2 separate regions of the Homo sapiens genome follow, and region 2 is linked to region 1. Evidence: promoter capture Hi-C in 16 types of primary human blood cells and fetal thymus (Javierre and others, 2016). All regions are on one chromosome and are shown on one strand. Each heading gives the region's core, a stretch centred on a gene start or on the middle of the fragment in contact. The rest is flanking DNA. Distances are from core to core; before and after follow the strand shown.

The links. Contacts are between HindIII fragments. The CHiCAGO score rates a contact against its expected background, and 5 or more counts as called.
Region 2: a contact is called between a fragment that was not itself captured here and the fragment with the promoter of CELSR1 in region 1, in 1 of 17 cell types (M1 macrophages). The highest score is 5.1, in M1 macrophages.

Annotation. Positions count from the first base shown.
Region 1 is chr22:46,535,228-46,539,542 of GRCh38, reverse strand. CELSR1 (cadherin EGF LAG seven-pass G-type receptor 1) reads left to right here and starts at 1,923. Exons shown (of 35, transcript NM_001378328.1): 1 at 1,923-4,315. The coding sequence starts at 2,373. The HindIII fragment of the contact is 22,329 bases long and covers 1-4,315 here.
Region 2 is chr22:46,145,008-46,149,322 of GRCh38, reverse strand. No RefSeq gene overlaps it. Among named protein-coding and RNA genes, the nearest start is that of PPARA, 3.4 kb to the left of the region's middle. The HindIII fragment of the contact is 964 bases long and covers 1,477-2,440 here.

The DNA of each region.
Region 1 (4,315 bases), core at 674-3,173:
TGGGCAGTCCCTGTGGTTACCTCGCAGCCTGCAGGTGCCTTATTCCAGAAAAGCAGGCCCACACCTGAACCCACTGGCTGCAGCTGAGTTTTGTTTATTTAAACCCAACCCACTCTGCTTAAAGCCTTATTGCAAAACAGGCACTCCTGGGGTTCTCTGGTTTTTCCTCCTGCCTGGGTCCCCTTCAGGTCCGCCCAGTAGCCTTCCACTGGGAGGCTCCGGGCTCAGGGACCCGCCCTGCCTTCCGGCCCCAGAACTCCTGTCCTTTCATCCTTCCCGGAAAAATCCCAGTGGAAGGGTATATGGCGGGTGGGGAGGTCCTGGACCGCTCACATTAAGGAGACGGACTTTTCTCCTTCCTCCCCTCCCTCCACACACACATTTCCCAACAGGACTCTCCAGTGGAAACCTCGAATTAAAAGGTTCCAAAGCAACTCCACCTTTTAGATCAATATAACGTGTTCAAATCCTTGCTACTGGGAAGAAAATGCTCACATTGGGCTTCAGCACAAAGACACTGTTTCAGCAGCTTTGAGCGAAGTTGGCTGAGTATGCGTGTGACACACACACAGACACATCGCTCCGGGGGAGAAACCCTTCCGGTTCTCCACAGCCGCCCACGGTCCTCGTTGAGACTGGACTCATCTCAGCTCAGCTCAGAGATTTGGCTGCAGGATCCGACCCTCCCTTGCCAAAAAGACCCGTTCTAGGGGTGACTGCGCATTACTCCCACCCCCACCGCTCCGACCGGCCCCAGGAGAAGCCCTTCTAGGAGAGAAGAGGCGACCCCCACCTACCGTCCCCGACCACTGGGAGGCCTAAGGGCTGCACTGGACTCCGGCGCCCCGAGCGCCACCAAGGGAGTGCGCGCCCTTCCCAGCCGCTGGTGGCACAGTCCCAAAGCCCCGCCCATGCGGGGGGTCGCCAAGTCCTAAGCCTCCACCCCCTTTATCCCTGTGCCCCATCCGGAGGCAGGTGTACCCGTCACGCAAACCTAAAGCTGCCCCCGGCCCCCCGTGGTTCCCCGCAGGAGGCGGGGGTGTGTGTCACTTTTCTGAAAGCTCTAAGGTCTCTGCCCCCCGCCCCCCGCTGTCCTCCGTAGGAGGCTGGGCAGGGGCTGTGGCACAGCTCTAAATCCCTGCGGGTGCTTGCTTGCCCCAGGCAGCTTCCAGGACCCGCAGCCCCCCGCCTTCCCCGCAACCCGCTTCGGGAGGAGCCGGACGCTCGGGGATTCCGCGATGCGTCCGCGAACGCTCGGGTCGGGCCGCACGCGGGAGATGAGCGCGCCTCCGCCGTCCTCTCCAAATCCCTTATGTCAACCGGGGTTTTCTTCTTTCATTTAAAAGTTGCGCTTTAAACCAAGTGGGACGCAGATCCGGTAGCTGCCTATTGGGCTTCAAAGTCCAGGGAGTTTTAGTCGGGGTGAAGCATTTTAGCCTCCGTGCGTCTTGCTGTAAAATGGGTAACCCTCCTCGACAGCCTCCGCAGTCCTTAATGGGTGGGGGGGGGCTCCCCGGCCTCTCGGCCCCAGTCCTCCGCCCCCGGGTCCTACCCGCGCGGCACTCCTGGCGGCGGTCTCCGTGGATCTGTTCTGCCGGGGTGGGGAGCCAGGCTCTGAGCCGCGGCCCCGAGCCCGAGGTGCGGAGCCACCGCCCCACGGGTAGCGGCCACCGGGGGCCCCAGCCCCACCTTTCCCGGCCCTGTTGCCTCGGCCCCGCCCCACCGGGAGGCTGGGTGGGGAGGCCTCCGGGGAGTAGGGCCCCAGTCCCCGTCCCGGCCGCGCCCTCGCGTCTCCATAGCGATCCTCTCGGCGCGCACCTCCGAGCCGGCTCCCCCCGGGGCCGAACAATACGCCGCTGGGCCGGGGGCGGGGCGGGGCCGGGCCGGGGGCGGGGAGAGCGCGGGCGGAGTGGGCGCGGGCCAAGCGCACCGCCCAGGCAGCAGCCGGCCGCCGGGGTCTGCGCGGCGCGGAGCTGCCCAGCCCGCTCCGGGAACTCAGCCCCCGCCCCGCGCCGGGCCCGCCCCGCTTCCCACGCCCGTCCGGCCGAGCCCGCGCCGGAGCCACCTGGAGCCGCCTGGAGCCGCCGCCGCCGCCGCAGGTTGATGCGCGGCGCCCTCCCGGGACGCGCGGAGGAGCCATCTTGAAACCAACTTCGCAAACTTTCGCAAAGTGCTCTCGAAGTGGAAGCTGCGGGGGAGGCCGGGCGCGTGGTCCCCACAGTCCCCGCCAGGGCCCCCGGGGAGGCGGGACGCGGACCGCCCCGAGGGCCGGGCGCCCGGGAGCCGCTCCCCGGCCTCGCCGGGTGGATGCGGAGGCGCGCCGGGTGCATGGATTGTGTTCGGGCGCCCGGCTCGGGCTCGGGCTCCGGGCCATGGCGCCGCCGCCGCCGCCCGTGCTGCCCGTGCTGCTGCTCCTGGCCGCCGCCGCCGCCCTGCCGGCGATGGGGCTGCGAGCGGCCGCCTGGGAGCCGCGCGTACCCGGCGGGACCCGCGCCTTCGCCCTCCGGCCCGGCTGTACCTACGCGGTGGGCGCCGCTTGCACGCCCCGGGCGCCGCGGGAGCTGCTGGACGTGGGCCGCGATGGGCGGCTGGCAGGACGTCGGCGCGTCTCGGGCGCGGGGCGCCCGCTGCCGCTGCAAGTCCGCTTGGTGGCCCGCAGTGCCCCGACGGCGCTGAGCCGCCGCCTGCGGGCGCGCACGCACCTTCCCGGCTGCGGAGCCCGTGCCCGGCTCTGCGGAACCGGTGCCCGGCTCTGCGGGGCGCTCTGCTTCCCCGTCCCCGGCGGCTGCGCGGCCGCGCAGCATTCGGCGCTCGCAGCTCCGACCACCTTACCCGCCTGCCGCTGCCCGCCGCGCCCCAGGCCCCGCTGTCCCGGCCGTCCCATCTGCCTGCCGCCGGGCGGCTCGGTCCGCCTGCGTCTGCTGTGCGCCCTGCGGCGCGCGGCTGGCGCCGTCCGGGTGGGACTGGCGCTGGAGGCCGCCACCGCGGGGACGCCCTCCGCGTCGCCATCCCCATCGCCGCCCCTGCCGCCGAACTTGCCCGAAGCCCGGGCGGGGCCGGCGCGACGGGCCCGGCGGGGCACGAGCGGCAGAGGGAGCCTGAAGTTTCCGATGCCCAACTACCAGGTGGCGTTGTTTGAGAACGAACCGGCGGGCACCCTCATCCTCCAGCTGCACGCGCACTACACCATCGAGGGCGAGGAGGAGCGCGTGAGCTATTACATGGAGGGGCTGTTCGACGAGCGCTCCCGGGGCTACTTCCGAATCGACTCTGCCACGGGCGCCGTGAGCACGGACAGCGTACTGGACCGCGAGACCAAGGAGACGCACGTCCTCAGGGTGAAAGCCGTGGACTACAGTACGCCGCCGCGCTCGGCCACCACCTACATCACTGTCTTGGTCAAAGACACCAACGACCACAGCCCGGTCTTCGAGCAGTCGGAGTACCGCGAGCGCGTGCGGGAGAACCTGGAGGTGGGCTACGAGGTGCTGACCATCCGCGCCAGCGACCGCGACTCGCCCATCAACGCCAACTTGCGTTACCGCGTGTTGGGGGGCGCGTGGGACGTCTTCCAGCTCAACGAGAGCTCTGGCGTGGTGAGCACACGGGCGGTGCTGGACCGGGAGGAGGCGGCCGAGTACCAGCTCCTGGTGGAGGCCAACGACCAGGGGCGCAATCCGGGCCCGCTCAGTGCCACGGCCACCGTGTACATCGAGGTGGAGGACGAGAACGACAACTACCCCCAGTTCAGCGAGCAGAACTACGTGGTCCAGGTGCCCGAGGACGTGGGGCTCAACACGGCTGTGCTGCGAGTGCAGGCCACGGACCGGGACCAGGGCCAGAACGCGGCCATTCACTACAGCATCCTCAGCGGGAACGTGGCCGGCCAGTTCTACCTGCACTCGCTGAGCGGGATCCTGGATGTGATCAACCCCTTGGATTTCGAGGATGTCCAGAAATACTCGCTGAGCATTAAGGCCCAGGATGGGGGCCGGCCCCCGCTCATCAATTCTTCAGGGGTGGTGTCTGTGCAGGTGCTGGATGTCAACGACAACGAGCCTATCTTTGTGAGCAGCCCCTTCCAGGCCACGGTGCTGGAGAATGTGCCCCTGGGCTACCCCGTGGTGCACATTCAGGCGGTGGACGCGGACTCTGGAGAGAACGCCCGGCTGCACTATCGCCTGGTGGACACGGCCTCCACCTTTCTGGGGGGCGGCAGCGCTGGGCCTAAGAATCCTGCCCCCACCCCTGACTTCCCCTTCCAGATCCACAACAGCTCCGGTTGGATCACAGTGTGTGCCGAGCTGGACCGCGA
Region 2 (4,315 bases), core at 709-3,208, 390 kb after region 1:
ACCTATGGTGAACTTTGCCCCACCCTCCAGACACCCACATATCCTTCCCACTGGCACACGGCAACCTCACCTTCTCTTGCACATGTTAGCCAGCAATAGCTATCATTTATGTTGTTTCAGAGTTTATAGGGTGACCTGTACACGTAATATCCTGCATATCTCGTGGGGTGTGCAGGCAGCCACATCCAAGCTTGTCATCCTGTTGTGTTTGGTGAGGGAAGCTGACCCTGGGCTGCCCACGCAGAGCTCAGGGGCTACATCCTCATGAGGACCTCCGGGCTCAAAGACATTACCTGGCATACCCATATCCCAGACTCTCAAGGACCAGGGTCCACACAGGTGTGTGACCCAGATGCACCACCCAGGTCAACCAGGTGTTGAAAGACCTAGTGAACATTCTCATGAACAAGGACAAAGGCTATGTGGGGGTGTGCAGAGTGGTCACGTACACTCAGCAGACATAGGAAAGTGATATTCTTGGGTTTTTTGGGGCTCCCAAGGTTTTAGGGAGAGAAAACTTGTTTTTCATCCATGTGTCCCAGAAATAAGCATTTTCAATCAAATGCTGTCAGCCAGTCTCCCGCAGGCGTCCTGAGGGTAGAAGCAAGTTCAGGACTCTTCTCTTGGGAGTATCCTGGCCAGAAACAGCCCCATATCCATGCTTCCCGGGGGTGGTAGGTTTCTTCTGGGAAACCACGCTCAGATGAGAGAGATGAAGCAATTTTCTGTTGGCCACGAAGACCTTGTCACACACCCAGCATGGGAGCAACTGTCACAAAGGGCACACCCTCACCCCCATTCCCAGCTCCAGGAAGTCTCTCTTTACCTTCTTCAGTGCTGATGAAATGAGGGCCACACGACAGAACAGAAACACCGCTGGCGCAGGGACTGAGTAGAAATCTGTAACTTTGAGGACAAATCAGTGCTCCTGAAAATGTCTCTGAGCACCACCTGAGTTTCCTCTCTGGCGCCTTAGTGACTACTGGGAGCATCTGGTGCATATGGATCTTAGTTCATAGCTACCATTTATGTGGTGACAATGCTGTCTCAGGTCCCTTTTTACATTTTCTGATCCGGAAGATGTTCTGAGGGTAATTATTACTGTGCCCACATTGCAAGATGGAGACTGAGGCACAGAGAAGCCCCATCTGCACTGGGTCCCCCAGGCCAGCGGCAGGGCGCAGGACGGAAGGCAGGTCTGTAAAGCCCACGTCTGCCCTGCTGAGCTGCTCTCTCCTGCAAGTGCTGACCTGCCAGCCAGCCAGAGAAGCCGAGGCTCTCCCACAGCCTCAGGGAAAGAATTGGGAAGCTGGGAATTCAGACGGGAAGGGGTTGCTGGAGGAGGCAACCTGGAGTGATAGGGCTTGGCCGCTCAGTACAGGGCAGCAGTTAGACCCTGAGTGCTGGGAGCAGGTGATGACGGTCATCTGTGTTCAGGGACCCCAGTGCTTTCCCTGACCCTGCCAGGGTGAAGCTTCTCCTATGGGCCTGGGGTCCAGGCTGGAGTCTGTTTGCCAGCCAGGGCCTGCGAAGTTTGCTGCTGGCTTGCCCTCTGCTGATGTGCAAAGCTCTCTGTCAAGGGGGAGTGTGTGCTTCCAGGGTGTCATCCGCCAGGGCAGTGGCCTCTGAGCTCCTGGAAGCGTGCCTGCAGGTCAGGTGGTGGAAGTCCACCGGGGCAGGGGCCGTGGGCTGAGAAAGGGAGGGCTCACTGGCAGCGAGCAGGCGGCTGCTTGGCGACCCAAGGCTGGACCTCGTCGGTGAGGGCCAACCATGGGCATGTCCTTAGTTGCCATCCTGGTACTGACAGCAAAACCCCATGGGTCCAAGGTAACAAAGTATTGTCATACTAGGGGACAGAATCTACAAGAGTCCCACAAGGCAGCTGTGCTTATGCTCATCTTACAGATGAGGAACGAAGGGCCAGGAATGGCAGCATGTGGCCAAGGTCCCCGGCAGGGAGTGAGAACTCTCCCGAGTCCCAGTCCATCAGCACCTGGCCCTGGGTACCCCCGGGGTTCGGTTGTCTGTTGCAGAAGCTGTCTGTTGGCTGATACGGCAGCCTCTGGCAGACTCAGGAGCCCAGGGTCAAGGATCAGATTTCCCTGGTGGCTGCTCCTGGCCCCACAGCTCCAGGGGGGTGGCAGCAGCATGTGCAGAAGCCTGTGGCAGGAGACATTCAAGGGGAGAGAGTGTGGAGATGGCACAAAGCGGGCAGAGCTGGGCAAGGCCCTGGCCAGGCAGGTCTTGCAGCCCAGTGAGGAGTTTAACTTTGGTCCTAAGGGCTGTGGGACACCTGCCATGGAGGGTTGTCAGCAGAGGCATGACTCCATCTGATTAGCACCAAGTGCTGCATGCTACATGTTAACCAGTGGTCACAGCTGAGGTGGTGGGGAGGGGCTTAAGCTGTGCACCCATTCTAGCTTTGCAGGATCTGGAAGCTTCCGCAGGTCCAGAAACTGCTGCTGTCATGACACTGTACCCTTTGAAAATTAACCAGTCCCCAGCTTTGCAGCAGGGCCCATTCGACATGGCTCAGATGTCTGTCTCTGTAGATCTTGAGAAGAACAGGGCAGCCCACCTGCAGCTGCACTGCCTCCCTTCTTTGCCCCTCCAAAGGGACAGGTGTCCACCTCGTCACACAGGATCCAGCTCCAGGGCTAGATCATGGATGTTGTTTATCCAGTCCAGGACATGGACTGGAAGCTGCAGGACCCCTCCCTGTGTCATGCTAGGTGCCGTGGGAGTCTCACTGCAAAGTGTGATGTGTAGATAGACGGATTTTCTTTCTTTACTTTTCTTTTCTTTTTTCTTCTCTTCTCTTCCCTTCCCTTCTCTTCTCTTCTCTTCTCTTCTCTTCTCTTCTCTTCTCTTCTCTTCTCTTCTCTTCTCTTCTCTTCTCTTCTCTTTTTGAGATGGAGTCTTGCTCTGCACTTATGTCCTTGCTGGAGTGCAGTGGTGAGATCTCGGCTCATTGCAACCTCCATCTCCCAGGTTCAAGTGATTCTCCTGACTCATCCTCCTGAGTAGCTGGGATTACAGGCACCTACCACCATACTCGGCTAATTTTTTGTATTTTTCATACAGACAGGGTTTCACCATGTTGACCAGGCTGGTTTCGAACTCCTGACCTCAGGTGATCCGCTCGCCTTGACCTCCTAAAGTGCTGGGATTACAGGCGTGAGCCGCTGCGCCCAACCAGATAGACATATTTGGTCCATAAAGGACAATCTGCTCTGTGTGGAGTTGGATTCTGCAATGATCTGACCCAGTGGTTGGCAGTGAGTGGCACTGCTGCGGCCAGGGAAGACTGCAAGTGCAGAGATGAGGTCTGGCATGACAGCCTGGAAACACACAAGACAGGCAAGCTTACGTGCACAGCACCGTGCCACGTGGGCACTGTCCCCCAACTTTCCCTCATGGAATGAGTGGGTGCCTGGGGTTTGGAGTTCAACAGAATTGGATTCAAATCCTCCTGTACCTTTTCCTCAAACTACAACCTCCAGCCGGTGATGCTATCCGAGCCCCCTCATCTCTAAAATGGGGCAGGGACGCCTTCCTGGATGGGTCCTGGTGTGAGTTTGAGGAGGGAGCACGGGGGTGGTGCAGGGTGGGGCCTGATGAGTGGGTCATATTTGGGACATGGTAACCACCAGCTTGAGGGCTCTGTCAAGAGTTGCCTCCTACAGGAAGCCTGCTTGGCAACCGTCCCCCTGCCAAAGCTGCCCTCTGCCTTGTGTGGCCACCACCTCCTGTGTTCCATGCGGCTCTTGTCGCATCCAGCACCATCTTTATGGCGGCCCACTGCCCGGTCCTGTCTCTCCACTCAGGACAGCCGACAGGCAGGCCTCATGCCTCGCAGACACCAGCCCCAGTGCCTACGTGTCTCCCGCCCGTGATCCCCTGTCCCACCCTATTATCTGCCTTTCACCAAAGCATCCTGCCAGCCAGGAAAGGCAATCTGAACCGGAGCCTGTGCAGCTGAGTGGAAGGGGGGCTGCCCTATTGCATTGCTCTGCTTGGGTTTCACTAAAACGTGGGATTGGGCCATGGTCCCTCATCTCCTGGAAGGGACAGGTCATGTTTGACAAAGTTTTCTGGGTCTGCAGCAAAGTGAAAAAAACAAAACAAAACAAAACAAAAAAACAAAAAACTGACATTGTGAAGAGTTTCCTATAGAACTTCAACTAGCTGATTTAAAGAAATACCTCGGGGCCAGGCGTGGTGGCTCATGCCTGTAATCCCAGCACTTTGGGAGGCCGAGGCAGGTGGACCATCTGAGGCCAGGAGTTCGAGACTAGCCTGGCCAACATGGTGA